Regions from separate parts of the Homo sapiens genome. Here regions 2 and 3 are each linked to region 1. Evidence: promoter capture Hi-C in human tissues and cell types (Jung and others, 2019). All regions are on one chromosome and are shown on one strand. Each heading gives the region's core, a stretch centred on a gene start or on the middle of the fragment in contact. The rest is flanking DNA. Distances are from core to core; before and after follow the strand shown. Region 1 holds the start of ZFR2 (zinc finger RNA binding protein 2). Region 2 holds the start of TJP3 (tight junction protein 3). Region 3 has its middle 9.6 kb from the start of PIAS4.

Evidence for each region. Contacts are between HindIII fragments. The study calls those that stand out against the background at their distance.
Region 2: the fragment with the promoter of TJP3 here is called in contact with the fragment with the promoter of ZFR2 in region 1 in 1 of the 25 tissues and cell types used here (IMR-90 fibroblasts).
Region 3: a contact is called between a fragment that was not itself captured here and the fragment with the promoter of ZFR2 in region 1, in 1 of the 25 tissues and cell types used here (neural progenitor cells).

Annotation. Positions count from the first base shown.
Region 1 is chr19:3,867,352-3,871,236 of GRCh38, forward strand. It overlaps ZFR2 (zinc finger RNA binding protein 2), which reads right to left and starts at 1,687. Exons shown (of 19, transcript NM_015174.2): 1 at 1,614-1,687. The coding sequence starts at 1,666. It also overlaps the pseudogene FTLP5. RefSeq lists an enhancer at 3,774-3,885. The HindIII fragment of the contact is 14,046 bases long and covers 1-3,885 here.
Region 2 is chr19:3,706,752-3,710,636 of GRCh38, forward strand. TJP3 (tight junction protein 3) reads left to right here and starts at 1,633. Exons shown (of 21, transcript NM_001267560.2): 1 at 1,633-1,810. RefSeq lists enhancers at 1,078-1,741, 1,742-2,403, 3,239-3,784. The HindIII fragment of the contact is 5,666 bases long and covers 1-2,620 here.
Region 3 is chr19:3,996,153-4,000,037 of GRCh38, forward strand. No RefSeq gene overlaps it. Among named protein-coding and RNA genes, the nearest start is that of PIAS4, 9.6 kb to the right of the region's middle. RefSeq lists an enhancer at 2,687-3,332. The HindIII fragment of the contact is 5,265 bases long and covers 1-3,885 here.

The DNA of each region.
Region 1 (3,885 bases), core at 437-2,936:
CTGGGACTCCAGTCTTGGGGGCAGATGGACGGGCTGAAGATAGCAGAGATGCTCCGAGGAGCAGGCCTGGGAGAACAGTGTAGAGTGTGTGTTTGTACACTTGGGGCACAAACTTACCCCGTGTGTGTCCCTACCCTCTGAGCCCTTCTGCCCCTGGCCAGTTCCCAGTGTGTCCCCATCCCCTGCCATCTCTCCTCCAGGATCCTTTCTCTCCCTCCCCTCCCAAACGACCACATATTTAAGACCTAGAAAAGGATCTTAAATATCACAACACTCAGGGCCCTTTCTCCCTCCTCACTGTCCCAGCAGGGTCCCAGTTCCCTGGAAACCCAGGTGCCCACCCTCTTATTTGACCTCAGGACCTCCTCCCACATAATACTGGCTTCCCGCCAAGTCTCTGTCCCCCTTCCCCAGTCAGGCCTCAGTTCCCCACCAACCTCGGTTTCCGCCCCTCCCTGGGGTAACCTCCCAGGTCTCTGTCTTCTCTCCTCCACCCCACATCAGGGGTCAGGTTCCCACCCCTACTCCACACCCCACCCCAGGTCTCTGCCCCTGCCTGCTAGGTACCCTCCCAGGTCTCTGCCTTCTCTCCTACCCCCACCATCAGGGGTCAGTGCCCTCCACACTCGAATGTTGCTGCCCCCTGCCCAGTCGGGAAACTTCCCAGGTCTCTGCCTTCTCCTCCTCCAGCAATCGGGGATTAACGCCCCTCTGCCCTTCCCCTCCTCCTGCCCAGCCAGACACCCTCCCAGGTCTGAATTCTCTCCCCCTACCAGCAATCGGGGTCAGCTCCGCTCTAGCTCTCCCCCTGTCCAGCCAGACACCCTCCCAGGTTTCTGTCTTCTCTCTTACCCCCATCAGGGGCCAATTCCTCACCCCTCGACTGTGGCTTCCTCCTGCCCAGCCAGGAACCCTCGCTGATCTCTGTTTTCTCCTCCCCTACAAGTAATCGGGGGTCAGCTACCCTCTGTCCATCCCCCTGCCCGGCCAGGCACCCTCCCAGGTCTGTGTCTTCTCCTCCCCCCGCAATCGGGGGTCAATGCCCCTCTGCCCTTCCCCTCCTCCTGCCCAGCCAGACACCCTCCTAGGTCTGTGTCTTCTCTTCCCCTACCAGCAATCAGGGGTCAGCTCCCCTCTGCCCATCCCCACCCACTCCCCGGCCAGGCACCTCCCAGGTCTCCTCCCTGCATTGGGTCAGTTCCGTCCCCTCCCCTCCTCGGTCAGACCACCCACCCCCCGCCCGGGTCTGTCCCCTCTCGCTGCCCTCCTCGTGGCGCCCCCATCAGGGGCTGACCCCCCCGACCCCGCACAGGCCCAGGCCCAAACCCAGGCCCCCTCCCACTTCAGGAGCCCCCTCCCGCTCCCGCCGACAGACACCGTTGGCTGCAGAGACGTCTCAGCCGGAGCCCCGGAGCCCGCATCCCGCCCGGTGCCTAACCTGAGGCCGCCCCGCCTGCTTCTCCCGGCGCCGCGGCTTCCCTCAGGCCGGGGTTCCAGGTTGGGGCTGGGACTGGGGCCGGGCCGGGCGCACGCGGCGGGAGAAGGGGTAGGCGGGGTCCCGGCCAGGCTGCAGGGGCCGGGACTGGCGGGGGCTGGCGCGGCGGGGCAGTTACCTGTACTGCGGGCCGCCGCCCTGCGCGAAGTCGAAATACTGACTCGTCGCCATCTTGGCGTCTTCCCCGAGCCTGGCGGACCCGCGACGTCACCCGCCCCGCCCCCGAGCCGCGTGCCGCTCGCGCCTGGCCACGCGCCCCAAGCTCCGCCCCCTGCGCGAAGCCCTCACCTTCTCGCTTCCTTCTCTTAGGCTAGGGAGACACCGCCCCGCGACCACACCTGCCCCGAGGCCCCGCCTCCTACGCAGAGCCCCGCCCTCCTCTTAACCACTCAAATGTGGAGGTCTCTGCTCAAGCCCCGCCCATGCTAGAAGCCCTGCCTCTTTCTCGGAGCCCCACATTCCCTTTAACCACTCAGATGTGGTGGTATCTGATCAAGTCCCGCCCATGCTACAAGCCCCGCCTCTTACTCAGAGCCCTGCCTTCCCTTTACCCACTCAGATGTGATCTCTGCTCAACCCCCACCCATGCCACAAGCCCCGCCTTTTTTTGGAACCGTACCTTCCCTTTAACCATTCAGGTGTGGAGGTCTCTGCTCAAGCCCCACCCATGCCACAAGCCCCGCCTCTTTCTCGGAGCCCCGCCTTCCCTTTACCTGCTCAGATATGGTCTCTGCACAAGCCCTACCTCTGTCTCCGAGCCCCACCTTCTCTTTAACCACTCAGATGTGGAGGTCTCTGCTCAAGCCCCACCACCACCACAGCCAGCTAATTTTTAAATTTTTTGTAGAGACAGTGTCTTGCTATGTTGCCCAGGCTGATGTTGAACTCCTGGCCTCAAATAATCTTGCCTTGGCCTCCAAAAGTGCTGGGATTACAGACGTGAGCCACTGCATCTAGCCTCAGAATGACTCTTCAGAAGGCCCCCATGGTCTCTGCCTCCTGTGTTCACAACGTGATATAAATAAATGATAGGCCGGGCACAGTGGCTCACGTCTGTAATCCCAACATTTTGAGAGGCGGAGGCAGGAGGATCTTGAGCCCTAGGACTTTGAGACTAGCCTGGGCAACATAGCAAGACCCTGTTTCTACAATTTTTTTTTAATTAGCTGGTCATGGTGGTACATGCCTGTGGTCCCAGCTACTCAGGAGGCTAAGGTGGGAGGATCACTTGAGCCTGGGCTGTCAAGGCTGCAGTGATCTGTGACTGTACCACTGCACTCCAGAGTGAGACCCTGTCTCAAAAAAGAGAAAAGAAAGAAAGGGCTGGGCGTGGTGGCTCACGCCTGTAATCCCAGCACTTTGGGAAGGCGAGGTGGGCAGCTCACCCAAGGTCAGGAGTTCAAGAGCAGCCTAGCCAACATGGCAAAACCCTGTCTCTACTAAAAATACAAAAAAAAAAATTAGCCAGGCGTGGTGGGGCACACCTGTAATCCCAGCTACTCGGGAGGCTGAGGCAGGAGAATTACCTAACCCAGGAGGTGGAGGATGCAGCGAGCCGAGATCACACCACTGTACTCCAGCCTGGGCAACAGAGCAATACACCGTCTCAAAAAAATAAAAAAATAAAAAATAAAAAAATAAATAAATAAATAATAAAAGAGGAGAGGGAGAGGAGCAGGGAGGGAGGGAAGGGAAGGAAAGAAGAGAGAGAGAGAGAGAGAGAGAAAGAATTGAATGAATAAACAAATAAATGGAGGCAAACAGACAAATCTCTTATGCAGAAGAATTCCTAATTTGTGTAGCTACACTGCGCTTAAGGAGATAGAGAGTAACTCTACACCTCTTGAGTGTGGGTTGTGCATAGTGACTTCCTTCCCAAGACTGCAGCCTGGAAGGAGGGGGAGGGAGAGTCACTTGACAGTATTGAAACCTGACAAGCAGCAGCGTGTTTGGCGGTCCCGCGGATCCGTCTCTTGCTTCCACAGTGTTTGGATGGAACAGATCCGGGAACTCACTTCCAGCCTCCGACCACCCGCTGATTTCCTCTCTTCTTGCAACCTCCAGGAGCATCGGCTCAGCCATCTCCTGCTTCTCGGACCAACCAACGCCGTTTTTTTGGTTAGCTCCTTCTTGCCGACCAACCATGAGCTCCCAGATTCGTCAGAATTATTCCACCGCGGTGGAGGCAGCCGTCAACCGCCTGGTCAGTTTGCACCTGCGGGCCTCCTACACCTCCTCCCTCTGCGGGTTTTTTTTTTTTTTTTTTTGCTTGTTTTTTTTTTGAGACGGAGTCTGGCTCTGTCGCCCAGGCTGGAGTGCAGTGGTGCGATCTCTGCTCACTGCAAGCTCCGCCTCCTAGGTTCACGCCATTCTCCCGCCTCAGCCTCCCG
Region 2 (3,885 bases), core at 383-2,882, 160 kb before region 1:
GTACTGGTAAAGATGGGGGGGTGTCTCACTATGTTGCCCAGACTGGTCTCGAATTCCTGGCCTCAAGTGATCCTGCCACCTTGGCCTCCAAAGTACTGAGATTATAGGTGTGAGCCATCATGCCCAACCCTTCCTGGTTAATTTTATTTTATTGAGATAGGATCTTGCTCTGTCACCCAGGTTGGAGTGCAGTGGCACAGTCATAGCTCTCTGCAGCCTCAACCTCCCAGGGTCAATTGATCCTCCCACCTCAGCCTCCTGAGTTTCTGGGACTACAGGTGTGTACCACCACATCTGGCTAATTTTTAAAAAAGTTTTCTGGGCTGGGCGTGGTGGCTCACGCCTGTAATCTCAGCACTTTGAGAGGCCAAGGCAGGCGGATCACCTGAGGCCAGGAGTTCAAGACCAGCTTGGCCAATATGGTGAAACTCCGTCTCTACAAAAATACAAAAATTAGCTGGGCATGATGGCTGGTGCCTGTAATGCAATCCCAGCTACTCGGGAGGCTGAGGCAGGAGAATCACTTGAAACCGGGAGGCAAAGGTTGCAGTGGGCCGAGATCAAGCCATTGCACTCCAGCCTGGGCAACATAGCAAGACTCTGTCTCAAAAAAATAAAAAAAAAATAAAATAAAAACAAAAAACAAAACAAAACCAACAACAGCCAGCAGCAACAACAAAAAAACTTTTCTAGGCCAGGCTCGGTGGCTCACGCCTGTAATCCCAACACTTTGGGAGGCCGAGGCGGGCAGATCACTTGAGGTCAGGAGTTTGAGACCAGCCTGGCCAACATAGGAAAACCCCGTCTCTACTGAAAAAAAAAAAAAAAATTAGCTGGGCGTGGTGGTGCACGCCTGTAATCCCAGCTACTTGGGAGGCTGAGGCAGAAGAATCACTTGAACCCAGGAGGCGGAGGTTGCAGTGAGCCGAGATCGCGCCACTGCACTCCAGCCTGGGTGACAGAGGGAGACTCCATCTCAAAACAAACAACAAACAAAAGATATATAAAAATTTTTCTAGAGATGGGTTTCACCGTGTTACCCAGGCTGGTCTCAAATTCCCAGGCTCAAGTGATCCTCCCACCTCGGCCTCCCAAAGTGCTGGAATTACAGGTGTGAGCCACCACACCTGACCCTTTCTTGTTTTTTAGATGAGGACAGCAAGAAGCCCCTGTAATTTGCCCAAAGCCACACAGCGGGGAAGTGGCAGAAGCTTCTGTACGTAGGAACCCAGTCACTTCGTAGCAGAGAGGCAGACTGCGCACAGATCTGCGTGGGGAAGGGAGTGCGCCAAGCCACAGCCTGATGGGCCGGCGTGCCTGGCAGGAGGCTCAGCAAGCACAGAGACTGGGCAGCTCCAGATGCAAGAAGCAGGAGGGAGGGGGACTCCGGGAGTGCGGTCCATTCATGTCTGAATGTAGCCAACGAGGGTTTCCTAAGCACCTACCATGTGCGGACGCTTGATACCAGGGCCTCGGCGGTGAGGGCACAGGCAGGAGCAAGCTCACCTCTGGGCAAGCAGGGGTTAAGGCCAGTTGCTCCCACGTGAGGGCACCTTGCGACAGAGCCACACACCCAGTCCTCCTGCTGGCCCGCCCCTCACCCTGGTCCGTCTCCCTGTGTCTGTGGTCGTCAGTTCCACTGGCAGGGGACCTGCCTCCCTGTTGCCACCACAAGAGAGGAAAAGTTGGTCAAACAGGTGGGGAGGCCAGAGCTACAAGCCTCGGGTTCCCTCCCCACCACCCGTGCCAGGCAGGCACCCGGGCCCTGGCACCTGCTGCCTGCCCAGAGGCCACCCAGCCTCCTAGACAGGTAAGTCCCCCGCCCCACTGTGCTTTTCCACCCAGTGTGCATTGTCTGAGCTGGCCTTCCCCAGCTGAGGGTCCTTAGACTCCCCCCCAACCTCCCCCACCACGAGCTGTCTCCCCGGCTCCTCGGAAAGCAGGAAACTGACACTCCTGCGTGGGCATCTGACATAGTTTCGTAGGGATTATCTGACCGGCAGTTACTGCACCTGGCGGCCTGCCCAGGACGCTGAGCTGGAAACTTAAAAGGGTCATTGTTACCTAGGTGGCGCAGGGACCGGGGAGGCGGCAAAGGGGCACAGGTTGGTCTCTGATCCCCCTAACTGAGGAGGGGAGGGGATATCAGTCCAGACGGAGCCTGGGTTTACCTCCTGCAGCCCGAGGCTAGGAGGTGACAGGTGGGAAAGGCTGCGACCTCACTCATCTCTGAGCCTCCTGGAACTTCTTAAAAGGCTCCCAAGTTTTGAAACAACTGCGTCTCCCGCCCCCCAACCCCTCACCCTGTTCTCACCGCTGGAACCTCCAGGAGCTTTGCAGGGAGGGATTGGGGTGGCCTTTCTTTTGCTAATTTTTTTTTTGAGACGGAGTTTTGCTCTTGTTGCCCAGGCTGGAGTGCAGTGGTGCGATCTTGGCTCACTGCAACCTCTGCCTCCACCTCTGCCTCCCGAGTAGCTGGGATTACAAGCGCCCACCACTATGCCCAGCTAATTTTTGTATTTTTAGTAGAGATGGGGTTTCACCATGTTGGCCAGGCTGGTCTCGAACTCCTGACCTCAGGTGATCCAACCCCCTCGGCCTCCCAAAGTGCTGGGATTACAGGCGCAAGCCACTGCGCCCAGACTTCTTTTTCTAATCTTTACTCCTCCGAGCAAAATCTCTGTGGGATGGGGCAGAGGGGAAGGAGGAAGGAGCGCTCAGAGCCAGAGAGGGGAGGGGTCGGCAGCAAAAGTGTTTTTCTGGGTCATTTGCTCCCAAATGGGAAGACCAAGGGAGCTTCCTCGTGAGCCAAGTGTCCGATTGCATCTCAAGTCTCTCTCCAGAACCAAGAGGGTCCCCCGGGGCCGAGGAGGCATGGATGATCGCATAGTGGGGGACAGAGCGGCCCGGCATTTGGGGTCACCTTGTGGCTGTGTGGCTGCAGAGCTCCCAGGGAGCAGGCTTGCTTGAGATTCGGGAGTCCGTGGGGGTGGGCGACATGGATCCCACCTTGCCTGGGTTTTGAGAGCAAACCCGTGGACTCAGTTAGATCTGGCTTCCACACCTCCCTTCTCTCCGGGCCTCTGTTTCCTGCTCTGTAAAATGGGGATATTGAGGGCCGGGCGCGGTGGCTCACGCCTGTAATCCCAGCACTTTGGGAGGTCGAGGCGAGTGGATCACAAGGTCAGGAGTTCGAGACCAGCCTGGCCAACATGGTGGAACCCTGTCTCTACTAAAAATACAAAAAATGAGCCGAATATGGTGGCAAGCACTTGTAATCCCAGCTACTCCGGAGGCTGAGGCAGGAGAATTGCTTGAACCCAGGAGGTGGAGGTTGCAGTGAGCCGAGATTGTGCCACTGCACTCCAGCCTGGACAACAGAGTGAGACTCTGTCTCAAAAAAAAAAAAAAAAAAAGGGGTGGGGGGATATGGAGTCACCAAGGCACAGGGCTGTTGAGTGCCGGATGTAATAAAGCGGGTAACAGATTCTCGGTCATTCTGGGGTCAAGACGAGCTATCCCGGTCCGAATCGGAGTCTGGTCTCATCAGCTTCCTGGTTTGTAGAGGATGAACCCTGGCTCAGAGAAGGACAGCCGCTTACCCCGGGCCGCACAGCCAAGTAGAAATGTCAGGCGGCCAAGAGTCAAGACGCAGAGGACAGGGAGCTGGTGGCGGGGGTGGTGCTCTGGAGGCTGGCCCTGCCCCCAGCTGATGCCTCAGGCTCAGCATCTCGAGAAAGTCCTGCCCCCTGGCTTGGTGCTTCCTCGTGGCCCTGAGTCCCGGGGAAAGTCCAGGGCAGGGAGTATGGGTACTTGTTCTTCCTCTTTAGGGCTGGCCAGGGGCCAGGGGAGCTGTGTTTGCTCAGGGTGGAACCTGACACCCTT
Region 3 (3,885 bases), core at 418-2,917, 130 kb after region 1:
ACAGGCGCATGCCACGACACCCGGCTAATTTTTCTGTATTTTTAGTAGAGACAGGGTTTCACCGTGTTAGCCAGGATGGTCTCAATCTCCTGACCTTGTGATCTGCCCGCCTCGGCCTCCCAAAGTGCTGGGATTACAGGTGTGAGTCACCACGCCCGGCCATACCTGGGTATTTTTAAGATTGTTGAAGAGATGGGGTCTATGTTGCCCAGGCTGGTCTTGAACTCCTGAGCTCAAGCAATCCTCCTGCCTCAGCCTCCCAAAGTGCTGGGATTCTAGGCCTAAGCCCCGGCGCCCAACCTGTCCCCCAATTAGATTATATTTGTTTATACAATCTGTTTTATTTATTTATTTACTTATTTATTTTATTTTTTTGAGATGGAGTCTCGCGTGTTGCCCAGGCTGGAGTGCAGCAGCATGATCTCAGCTCACTGCAACCTCTGCCTCTCGGGTTAAAGCGATTCTCCTGTCTCAGCCTCCTGAGTAGCTGGAATTACAGGTGTGTGCCACTATGCCCGGCTAATTTTTGTATTTTTAGTGGAGACAGGGGTTTCACCATGTTGCGTGGGCTGGTCTCAAACTTCTGACCTCAGGTGATCCTCCTGCCTCGGCCTCCCAAAATGCTGGGATTACAGGAGTGAGCCACTGTGCCTGGCCTACAATCTGTTTTAGAGCCAGAAAATGCAATCAATTGTGATAATACATTGCTATGTTTTGAAATACATATATACAAACGTGCACACAACTTTATTTAAATTTAAGATGCTTTTAATATTCAGCTAACACCAAATTCACAATTTGATACTTTTTTTTTTTGGTAAAGATGGAGTCTCCTTCTGTCACCGAGGCTGGAGTGCAGTGTCCTCATCTCGGCTCACTGCAACCTCTGTCTCCCAGGTTCAAGAGATTCTCCTGCCTCAGCATCCTGAGTAGCTGGGATTACAGGTGCGTGCCACCACGCCCCAGTAATTTTTTTTGTATTTCTAGTAGAGACAGGGTTTCACCATGTTGGCCAGGCTGGTCTCAAACTCCTGACCTCATGATCCACCCGCCTCGGCCTCCTAAAGTGCTGGGATTACAAGCTTGAGCTACCGCGCCCAGCTCATAGGTATTTTTGCCCAGGAAACAACTCCATTTACTTAAGTGCAAAACGGGAGTAACTATCTGTATCTATATCTACCTCTCTCCATCTATCTCTATGTATCTTACATAACAGTGGAGGTGGTTTGTGAATTTTGTCAGAATTGCAAAGGATCTGATTTAGAACTGATGAATTCTGTCCTAAAACAGGCTGTAAAGCTTTAAATTGGTCGTGTGGGGATTTTCCATAGCCTCCCTCTCCTCTTTCTTGTCTGTCTACCTCCCATCAGTGTCTGAACATGTTCTGTATTTAGCCTTTTTTTTTTTTTTTGAGATGGAGTCTCCCTCTGTTGCCCAGGCTGGAGTACAGTGGTGCCATCTCGGCTCACTGCAAGCTCCACCTTCCGGGTTCAAGTGACTCTCCTGCCTCAGCCTCCCAAGTAGCTGGGACTACAGGCGTGTGCCACCACGCCCAGCTAAATTTTTATTTTTGGTAGAGATGGGTTTTCACCATCTTGGCCAGGCTGGTCTCGAACTCTGGGCCTCAGGTGATCCGCCCATGTCAGCCTCCCAAAGTGCTGGGATTACAGGCGTGACCCACCACGCCGGGACCTTTAATTAGCTTTTGATTTTGTTTGTTGTTGATCTCCCTCCTGGAATGCCAGTTCCACGAGGACAGGGAATTTTGCCTGTTGTGGTCACCACTGTGTCTGAGCATCTCTAACAAAGACTAGCAAGCTACAGCCCTCAGCCCTAATCTTTTTTTTTTTTTTTTTTTGAGTCTCGCTCTGTAACCAGGCTGGAGTTCAGTGGCACAATCTCGGCTCACTGCAAGCTCCGCCTCCCGGGTTCACGCCGTTTTCCTGCCTCAGCCTCCCGAGTAGCTGGGACTACAGGCGCCCGCCACCATGCCCGGCTAATTTTTTGTATTTTTAGTAGAGACGGGGTTTCACCGTGTTAGCCAGGATGGTCTCGATCTCCTGATCTCGTGATCTGCCCGCCTCGGCCTCCCAAAGTGCTGGGATTACAGGCATGAGCCACTGCGCCCAGCGTATTATTATTATTATTATTATTATTATTACTTTTGAGACAGAGTCTCTCTCTGTCACCCAGGCTGGAGTGCAGTGACACAATCACGGTTCACTGCTGCCTGGAACTCCTGGGCTCAAGCCATCCACCTGAGTAGGTAAGACTGTAGGCGTGCACCACCATGCCTACTTAATTTTTTATTTTTTGCAGAGAGAGGATCTCATTATGTTGCTCAGTCTGGTGTAGAAATCCTGTGTTCAAGCAGTCCTCCTGCCTGGATCTCCAAAAGTTCTGGGATTACACACCCGACCCACAGCACCCGGCCTTCTTTCTCTTTTAAATGTTCAAACAAAAGCATAATAATAACATGACATGTGAAAATACGTAAGATTGAAATTTCTGTGTTTATGAAGTTCTACTAGCATACAGGCCTGGCTCAGTGGTTCACACCCGTAATCCCAGCATTTTGGGAGGTCCAGGAGGGCAGATCACTCGAGGTCAGGAGTTCAAGACCAGCCTGGCCGGGGGCAGCCCCCGCCCGGCCAGCTGCCCCGTCCGGAAGGGAGGTGGGGGGCAGCCCCCGCCCGGCCAGCCGCCCCGTCCGAGAGGTGGGGGGCGTCTCTGCCCGGCCGCCCCGTCTGGGAAGTGAGGAGCCCCTCTGCCCGGCCGCCACCCCGTCTGGGAGGTGTACCCAGCAGCTCATTGAGAGCAGACCATGATGACGATGGCGGTTTTGTCGAATAGAAAAAGGGGGAAATGTGGGGAAAAGAAAGAGAGGTCAGATTGTTACGCTGTCTGTGTGGAAAGAAGTGGACATAGGAGACTCCATTTTGTTCTGTACTGAGAAAAATTCTTCTGCCTTGGGATGCTGTTAATCTATAACCTTACCCCCAACCCCGTGCTGAAACATGTGCTGTGTCCACTCAGGGTTAAATGGATTAAGGGCGGTGCAAGATGTGCTTTGTTAAACAGATGCTAGAAGGCAGCATGCTCGTTAAGAGTCATCACCACTCCCTAATCTCAAGTACCCAGGGACATAAACACTGCGGAAGGCCGCAGGGTCCGCTGCCTAGGAAAACCAGAGACCCTTGTTCACATGTTTATCTGCTGACCTTCCCTCCACTAGTGTCCTATGACCCTGCCAAATCCCCCTCTCCGAGAAACACCCAAGAATGATCAATGAATACTAAAAAAAAAAAAAAAAAAAGACCAGCCTGGCCAACATGGTGAAACCCCGTCTCTGCTAAAAATACAAAAATTAGCTGGGCCTGGTGGCGTGCGCCTGTAGACTCAGCTACTCAGGAGGCTGAGGCAGGAAAATCTTTTTTACCTGGGAGGCGGAGGTTGCAGTGCACCGAGATCAGGCCCCTGCACTCCAGCTTGGGCAACAGAGCAAGACTTTGTCATAAATAAATAAATAAAATAAAATAAAGTTTTACTAGCACACAGCCATGCTCATTTGTTTTTCTTTTTTCTTTTCTTTTCTTTTTTGAGACGGAGCCTCGTTCTGTCGGCCAGGCTGGAGTGCAGTGGTGTGATCTCGGCTCACCACAACCTCCGCCTCCCGGTTCAGGCGATTCTCCTGCCTCAGCCTCCCAAGTAGCTGGGACTATAGGTGTGCACCACCACGCCCTGCTAATTTTCGTATTTTTAGTAGAGATGGGGTTTCACCATATTGGCCAGGCTGGTCTCAAACTCCTGACCTCATGGTCCGCCTGCCTCGGCCTCTCAAAGTGCTGGGATTACAGGCGTGAGCCACCGCTCCCGGCCAGCCAT